3 separate regions of the Homo sapiens genome follow, and regions 2 and 3 are each linked to region 1. Evidence: promoter capture Hi-C in 16 types of primary human blood cells and fetal thymus (Javierre and others, 2016). All regions are on one chromosome and are shown on one strand. Each heading gives the region's core, a stretch centred on a gene start or on the middle of the fragment in contact. The rest is flanking DNA. Distances are from core to core; before and after follow the strand shown.

What was found. The method cuts DNA at HindIII sites, captures the fragments that hold promoters and counts their contacts. A CHiCAGO score of 5 or more calls a contact.
Region 2: a contact is called between the fragment with the promoter of TRIM62 here and the fragment with the promoter of MATN1-AS1 in region 1, in 1 of 17 cell types (fetal thymus). The highest score is 6.6, in fetal thymus.
Region 3: a fragment that was not itself captured here is called in contact with the fragment with the promoter of MATN1-AS1 in region 1 in 1 of 17 cell types (total CD4 T cells); the score reaches 5.1 in total CD4 T cells.

The regions. Positions count from the first base shown.
Region 1 is chr1:30,717,398-30,720,097 of GRCh38, forward strand. It overlaps MATN1-AS1 (MATN1 antisense RNA 1), which reads left to right and starts at 1,375. Exons shown (of 4, transcript NR_034182.1): 1 at 1,375-2,168. MATN1 (matrilin 1) reads right to left here. Exons shown (of 8, transcript NM_002379.3): 3 at 1,338-1,560. RefSeq lists silencers at 598-777, 818-1,337, 1,898-1,987 and enhancers at 1,398-1,567, 1,665-2,240. The HindIII fragment of the contact is 4,958 bases long and covers 1-2,700 here.
Region 2 is chr1:33,180,628-33,183,327 of GRCh38, forward strand. It overlaps TRIM62 (tripartite motif containing 62), which reads right to left and starts at 1,416. Exons shown (of 5, transcript NM_018207.3): 1 at 398-1,416. The coding sequence starts at 805. It also overlaps a transcript of ZNF362 not described here. RefSeq lists an enhancer at 1-108 and silencers at 191-390, 981-1,050, 1,281-1,590. The HindIII fragment of the contact is 3,969 bases long and covers 1-2,700 here.
Region 3 is chr1:33,474,953-33,477,659 of GRCh38, forward strand. All of the region lies in intron 1 of ZSCAN20 (zinc finger and SCAN domain containing 20), which reads left to right. Among named protein-coding and RNA genes, the nearest start is that of ZSCAN20, 3.7 kb to the left of the region's middle. The HindIII fragment of the contact is 4,752 bases long and covers 1-2,707 here.

The DNA.
Region 1 (2,700 bases), core at 125-2,624:
CTGCGGGTCACATCCCAAAGACCCACACACACACCTCCCCTCCGAGAAGGGCTCTGAACCTTCTCCTGCCAGTGCCCAGGCCTCTCAGACTCTCCCGCATCACAGAAAACTCTGGCACCCAAAACTCACGACACAGAAACATGTGTAGGTTTTCTGGGAGCTCTCCTTCCTGAGCTCTGGGCCCTCCTTGGTCCCTGCCAGGATTCTGCCACATAAAAGGGCTCTGTTGTTTTTTGTGTGTGCGGTTTTTTTTTTTGTTTTGTTTTTTTTTTGAGACGGAGTCGTCTCGCTCTGTCGCCCAGGCTGGAGTGCAGTGGCACGATCTCGGCTCACTGCAAGCTCCGCTTCCCGGGTTCACGCCGTTTTCCTGGCGCAGCCTCCCGAGTAGCTGGGACTACAGGCGCCCGCAACAACGCCCGGCTAATTTTTTGTATTTTTAGTAGAGACCGGTTTCACCATGTTGGCCAGGATGGTCTCGATCTCCTGACTTCGTGATCCGCCCGCCTCGGCCTCTCAAAGTGCTGGGATTACAGGCGTGAGCCACCGCGCCCGGCCATAAAAGGACTCTTAACATCGCCTCTCCCCAACTCCCTTAACCTGGGGCTGGAGACCCTCCTCCGTTATCAGGCTCCGCCCCAGCTACGGCCCCACCCCTGGTGCTGGCACCACCTCAGTCTAATCCAGGTTCCACCCCCAATCCACCTAAGCCGTGTCCCTAGCCCTGGCCCCGCCCTGATGTTGCCGTGTAACTCAGTTCCCGCCGTTTTATAGGCTACCGCCCCAGCCAGGCCCCGCCCTCTGATGTGGCCCCGCCCCCCGACGCTGACTTTTTCTGTCTTCACTTTAGCGCTGGCTCCGCCCCTAGCCTTGGCCCGCCTCAGCGCGGACTCTCAGTCTCTGCGCCTGCCACGGCCTCGTCCCGCTCAGCCCTGGCCCTGCCCCTGGAGCCGACTCTCTCCGCCTCCGCCCCGGTCCCGCCCTGGCACTGACTGTCTCCGTCTTCGCCCCTGCCCTGGCCCCGCCCCCTGCCTGCTCTGGCCCCGCCCCGCCGCTCTCTCCGTCTCCGCCCCTGCCCTGGCCCCACCCTTGCCCCGCCCCGGCGCTGACTCTCTCCGTCTCCGCCTCCGCCCCCGGCTCCTCCCCGGCCCCGCCCCGGCACTGACATTCTATCTCTCTCCCGTCTCCGCCTCTGCCCCCCCCCCGGCCCCGCCCCTGCCCTGCGCCGGCGCTGGCTCCGTCTGCGCCTCAGCCTCGGTCCCGCCTCCAGCCCTGGCCCCGCCCCGCCGCTCTCCCCTTCTCCGCCCCTGCCCTGGCTCCGCCCCCGCCTGCCCGCGCACCGCAGAAGGCCTCCTGGAACTTCCTGGACAGCTTCTCGATGACGCTGTAGCTCTCCACGTAATCGACGTGTTCGTCCTGCGGCTCGCTGGCGATCTGCCGCAGCGTGGCCTTGTCCACGCTGCCCACTCCGATGGCGAACAGCTCGACGCCGCTGGCCCGGGCCCGCGCAGACACGTCCTGCACGCTGTCCTGGGGCCTCCCGTCTGTCACCACGATGACCACCTGCGACACGCGGGGCGGTGTGACACCGGGCTCCCGGAAGCCCACGGGACTGTCCAGGAGAGGAGGCTGAGGCCCGGAGAGGCGGGAGGACTGCCGGGTCGCACAGCCAGGCGGCACCCGGGGGAAGAGGACCCGGCTGGCCGAAGAGGAGACCCGTTTCCTCTGACTGAGAGACGTGGCTGGGGGGCTTTCCATCTGCTTCGCCTCCCTCGGGCAGGCAGCTCTGAGATGCCCGGAGGGATGTGATGCCCCATCGCCAAATTGGGGTCTCTAAGGTCAGGGCCATGCCTTCCCCTCAGACTGAGGCGGCTGAGGGCAGGGTCCTCAGGCTGATGGCTGTGGGAGTCGTGCCACGCCCCTCGTGCCCCCGGGAGGCCCGGCCGGGGCTGGGTGGGGGGATCCGGTGGTTCCACATGGTGCAGTTCTGCGCTTTGGCCACCAGATGGCAGCCGAAGCTAAGGGATGGGGCTGCCGTCTCCCGTCTTGCTGTCCTTGTCCCGGTAAGACCGGGGACCCTGGACCAGGGAACCGACGGAGGGCCACTCCCATGTGGATGCCCAAGGGACCAACCCAAGAAAGATGCCGCCCTTATCCTCCTCCACTCCCCGGTATGATACATGCCCCTGCCAGAGAGGGAAAGAATCTGCCTGCTCCCCTCCCACTAGGCTCCTCTGGTCTGTACCCTGGAAAGAAAGAGGTGGCGGACTCTGTCACTGAGATCCGGCTTCGTGACCCCCTGTCTGCACCCGCCCTGAGGCTAGGGCGCTCCCAGCTCTGCCCAGTCTGGGTTAGGCATCCAGTCCCGCTTTGCTGCTTCTCTGCTTCTGACTTGGGTCTGTTTCTGATTCCTGGGTCCCATCCTTAGCCCCAGGTCCTGACACCCTGTCCTGATGACAGGCAGTTGAGACAGGCCGTGTTTAGAAATGCAGCTCCACAAGCTACAGGTCACCTTCCTGAGCCTCAGTGTCTTCAACTGTAAAAAGGGTTGTGGTGAGGTTGAGTGAGATGACTCCTGGTTAGAAGCCAGAAGGGGCAACTATTATTTTTACCATCATTACCCTGGGCTACCTGGGGAGTGACTTTGTACAATCTCTTCCTCTCCAGGGGCCTGGGCTCCTGGCTCTGAAAATCTAGCTGTGA
Region 2 (2,700 bases), core at 166-2,665, 2.5 Mb after region 1:
GTCTGACAGTGGCCCTGCCTTTGCCCAACTCTGATTCCGGTTCGTCCACAACCCTGCCCCAGCCCAGTATCTGGTCCAGTTCTGATCTCACTTGTTTCCGCCATCCCATCCGCATCCCCGACTTCTCCCTAACCGCGGACCAGCCGGTACTCCAGGTCTGTCTCAGATCCCTCAGGGTCCGGACTGCCCAAGGCCCCGCCCCCACGGCCCCGCCATGCGGCGGCCCCGCCCCTCCCTGCCCCGCGTTACTCCTGATAGGGCCCTGACCTTGCTGGCGGCCCCGCCCCAGGACCATTCTGACTGGGCCTGGCCCGCGGTCCAGCCCTGACCCCACCCCCCGCCCGGCCCCACCTCCAGCCCGGCCCCGCCCCTTCCCCAGGCAGGCCGGGTAGCGCACCTGCAGCTCGTCGAAGGCGTCGTCGATGCCGGTGACCTGATGCTGCTCGTGCAGTGCAGGCTCGTCGCAGAAGAAGCAGAGAAGCGCGCGGTCCGTGAGGCAGAAGAGCTTGACCTTGTCGTGCGCCTGGCAGGGTCGCGCGGCGCGGCGCGCGTTGAGGATGGCGTCCAGCGGGAAGGAGCTGTAGCGCTCCACGATGTTGGCCAGCTTGAGGCTGGGCGCCAGCGCGGGCTCGGCGAACGTGCGCCGGCACTCGGGGCAGTCGCGGGCGCCCTGCGCCTCCTGCCGCACCCAGTGCTCCGTGATGCAGCGGCGGCAGAAGTAATGCTCGCAGCCCAGGCTCACCGGGTCCTGGTAGATGCTCAGGCAGATGGAGCACAGCAGCTCGTCCTTGAGGCTGCACGCCATGGCGCCAGGGGCAGCAGAGAGGGGGGCCCGAGGGGCAGGGGGGCGGCTGAGAGAGCGCGGCGCTGTCGGAGGCAGCACCGAGGGCTGGGCGCGGGGACGAGGCCCGCACAGGCAGGGGTAGGAGCTACCGGAGAAGGGAGGGGGTGCTGTCCGGAAGGAGGGTAACGCGAGGAAGGGGTGCGCGGCTGAGACTCCGTGGGACGCCAGCCCGGGAGGGCAGTCTAGAGGTAGTGGGCAGCTCAAGGCGATGGGCGCTGGGAGGAGGCTGTGAGCGGCTGAGGGACGGAGATCCTGACGGGGAGGTTCTAGGGGGCGGGGCAGTCCTAAGGGATAGGAGCTGGGAGAAGGGGATCCCGGAGCGGGGTGGAGCCCTTAAGGGGGTCGAAATCCCGGGGTGGGGGCGGTGCGGGGAGGGCGAGAAGCTGGGGATGGGGAATCCTGGGGGAGGGGGCAGCCAGGCCGAGCCGTACATTGGCTGTGACCGGCAGAGAAGAGGAGGGGTGCCGGCCCGCTCAGCTGCCGGATCCCGGCCCCAAACCCTGGCCCAGCGCGACCCCTTACCCCCGCGAGCTTAGCAGCCACCGCTTCGGTCCAGCGCAGCCTCTCAACCCGGAACCAGCCGAATCCGAGCTGCCGGTGGCCGCGGCTGCCTCCCCGCCCCCGTGGGCGGGACCCAAGCAACTCCGCCCCCGCAGCGGGCGGGGGAGGGGCGGGGCCACCAGCCGGTTGACCCCGCCCCACCCCCACCATCCTCCAGCTCCCAGGGAAGCGAAGCCCAGCTGTTCCTTCGGGGTGTGTACTTGGAACTGCATCCAGGTCTCGCTTAGGGTCCCCGCGGCGAGGCGGAGCAGCTAATTTGAGAGCACAACAAATAAACAAGGAGCATCTTTCTGGATCATCGATTTGAAGATGTAGAAAAAATCATATTTTGTATTAAAACGAACAAGAATATATTTGGAATACAACTTCTGCATAAAATATAAAGATAAAACTCTTGAAATGCCCTGCTTGCTTAGAGCGAGTTCAAGGCCCTCACACTCCTAAGCCCTGGGGTCCCATTTCCTCTTCACTTTCTTAAGGAGTGCTTGGGGAGAAGTTTGGAAAGCCCTGGCTAACATCTGGCCCCGGAGGCTGCCTCCATTGGCAAACAATTCTGGAGTGCTGTATTTGTGTGTGTGTGTGTGTGTGTGTGTGTGTGTGTGTAAGGCGGTGAGGGGTGGAGCAGGAGAGAGGGAGAAAAAGTAATAGGAGAACTTGTCTTGTGTGCCAGATGGAGAGGGGATAAGGGATTTCTAGGCAGAGGAGACAGCCTGTGCAAAAGCATAGAGGCGTGAAAGGGGAGGGCGCAGTGAAGGAAGTGCTAGTAATTCTGTACTGTTGGGGGTGGGGTGGAGAAGGAGCCTGGGTGGGCTGGAGGGCATTGTGGGTCATGGTAAAGAATTTCTTGAAGGCATGGGGCTTTCAGGCAAGGGAATGACCTGGTCCGATTGGGTTTCAGGAAGTCTTGGAGATAATCATTATACCATCTGCAAGGTGAAGAAGACAGGGAGCTTTTCCAATGTGTCTGCGGATGCACAGCACTCAGCACACAGTAAAGGTGTGTAGCTGAATAACCGCATCAACGCCCTGGGTTGCAGGAGGAAGGAAAGACTGGGCACCCCTAAGGTGCTGTTGTCATCGTGCCTGCAGGAGGTGAGACCCGAACTGGGGCCTCAGCAGTGGGTAAGGAGAGAAGACTAGGGTATTGCAAGTACAGACACGGTGACATTTGGTGATGGTTGGATACGGGGGTGAGGGAAATGAGCCATAGAGGGTGGCTACCAGTTTCTGCCTCCTCCAGAAATATCTTCATTGGTGTTAAACTTTATTGAGGTACAGTTTATGAAAAAGCTCTC
Region 3 (2,707 bases), core at 118-2,617, 2.8 Mb after region 1:
GCAACTGCTGAGTAAGATCAGGCTGTAAGCTGCAGCCTAGCTAGGCAGCCACAGGGGCTACATAACTTGTCCAAAGTAACACAGCTGATTAGTGGCAGGAGTGGAACTAGAACCCCAGTCTGCTCACTCCTGCCTTAATGTTCTTTCCATTCTCCCGTACTGTCATCTTAAGAGTTTGGATGACTAGCACACATAGAGGAGGCTATAAGACATGGTTAAGAAAAATGATTGGAGAAAAGGGATCTCGGCTTAGACCCTAACTCTACCACTTGCTAGTTGTGTAACCTTAAGTGAATCTTCATAAACACTCAGTTTCCCTTTAGGTAATTGAGGATATAGTGCAGTCATACCTTATCAGATAATAATATTCTAAGGGTGAAAATCACTTTAGCCAAAAATCACAGTTAGTTTGAAAATCCTTTGGCAAGGAGCCGTTTCAGAAACTAACACGCTGCCTTTCAATAAATAAACTAATCAGCACAGCTGGGCTTTCTTGTTTGAACATTAGATGAGAATTCGCTTGTATTAGGGACTGTGCGGTATGAAAGACACTTTACTCACACTTAGTGGAAAGAGAGGCACGAGGGAATCAAGACCAACCTGGTGAATAGCGAAGTCCTAGGTGCCACCACCACATGCTTATTCTCGAACAGATAGTGAACGCAACTGGCTGCACTATTTAAATCATGCTCTTTCTCTCTTTCTTTTTTTTTTCTTCTTTTTCTGAGACAGAGTCGTGCTCTGTTGCCCAGGCTGGAGTGCAGTGGCACGATCTCAGCTCACTGCAACCTCCGCCTCCTGGGTTTAAGCAATTCTCCTGCCTCAGCCTCCCGAGTAGCTGGGATTACAGGTACGAGCCACCACGCTTGGCTATTTTTTTTTTTTTTTTGTATTTTTAGTAGAGACAGGGTTTCACCATGTTGGCCAGGCTGGTCTCGAACTCCTGACCTTGTGATCTCCCTGCCTCGGCCTCCCAAAGTGCTGGGATTACAGGCGTGAGCCACCGCGCCCGGCCCTCTTTCTCTCTTTCTGATCTTTGCAGTGGAAGTTACAGATCAGTGAAATGCAGCTCAACACCTAATGAGACTCCAGTTGCTGCCTGGAGGCTTCAGTGAGATTATGAATGTGGAACACAGCACTGTGCCTGGCACCTTGTGGGCACTCAGTAAAGGGGTACTCTTAGAAATTGCTGGTCCTAATGAGGCTCGATATTCCTGGTCATCTCGGAACTGAGGAATGCCCCGGTCCATTTTCCCTTGTTCACTTCTGTGTGAAGTCACCCGGCTGTTGGCCGACTCTGTTGGCCTCCCTCTCCCCACAATAGCCTGCTATCCATACTTCGGTCTAACTTCCTTAGAAAGTTACGGTTATGGTTCCTTAGAAAAAAAAGGTTATGGTGATATGTGGTCCCTGGGGCTTTCCGATTTCTATTTGAAACAAACCTTTGGGACTTTCAAGTCTTTCCAGGAGAAAATACCTATTATCTGAGACTCTGAGCTTTGGGCCTGGTGTGACTGCTAATTGCCTATTTTGTTGTAGTGTCCTGTTTGTGCAGGAACGCAAATGTCTTTGCTTGCTTATTGACTGTCTGTCTCACTAGACTGTAATTTTATTGAAGGTAGGGACTGTCAGTCCCAGCTACTGGTAGATCTGTAGCTTCCAAACAGGGTATAGCTGGTACTCTATAAATGATTGATGAATTGCTCCTTGTGTGAGAGGGTGACAGAAATGTGTTTGAACTCATGCATCAATAAGGTTGTGGTTCAAAAAGAAATTTCATGAAAGGCGAATTCTTTAGGTTCAAAAAGAAATTTCATGAAAGGCAAAATCTTTCTACATATGTGATCTCTCTGAGTGCTTATAGCAGTAATGTAGGTAGACAGAAATAGTTTAGTTTAATATAAATTATGGAATATCTGTATCCCATTAGGCTTTTGATACGCCAGGTTTATCATTTTAATACATGGTAATAAAACTTTTTAATGGCCCTGCTATTTATCAGATACTGGGTTGAGCACTGTGGATACAGAAATTAGTAACATACAATACTGATTCTAGTAATATAGTATAATGTGGGTGTCAGATATAGTAACAGGTAACTACAATAGTGTAGGATAATACCTATATTAGAGGTATGTACCAATTGCTTTGGTGATATAGGATCAGGGAGGCAATTCTTGGAGGGCAGGACATGAAAAGGGCATGTCAAGGAACTCCTATCAAAGGAGGTGACATTTGAGCTGGTGGTTGAAGGATGAGTAGGAAGCTGCCAGGTAGCCATGAGTTGTGCTTTAAGCCTCTTCCTAAGCATATGGAGGCCTTTAGGGCAAGACTTTAATTTTTATTACCCTTGTCTTGTTTCTCTTCAGTCCAGTCAGATTGCCCAAAATGAAAAATACCACCATCTCTCCATTCTCAATTCAGTTGTGTCATTCCCACTTGGAAGCAGCTAATGATCTCCTTTGAGTGGGCATTTTTTATGTCACCCAGACTTGTTGGGATGACACAGAGAGCTCATTTTTTCAAATAACCCAGCATGGGTGCCATCAGAGAGGCTGTAATCTCCTCTGGGACACACATAGATACGCACATCCTTCTCATACAATGTCTCATACAGTGTAGAAAGTGGTAAGTGTCACAGAGACATGGAAATAAAAGAGAAAGGAATTCCTTTTGGCATGAGCGCGAAGGTCATTTATTTTTTATC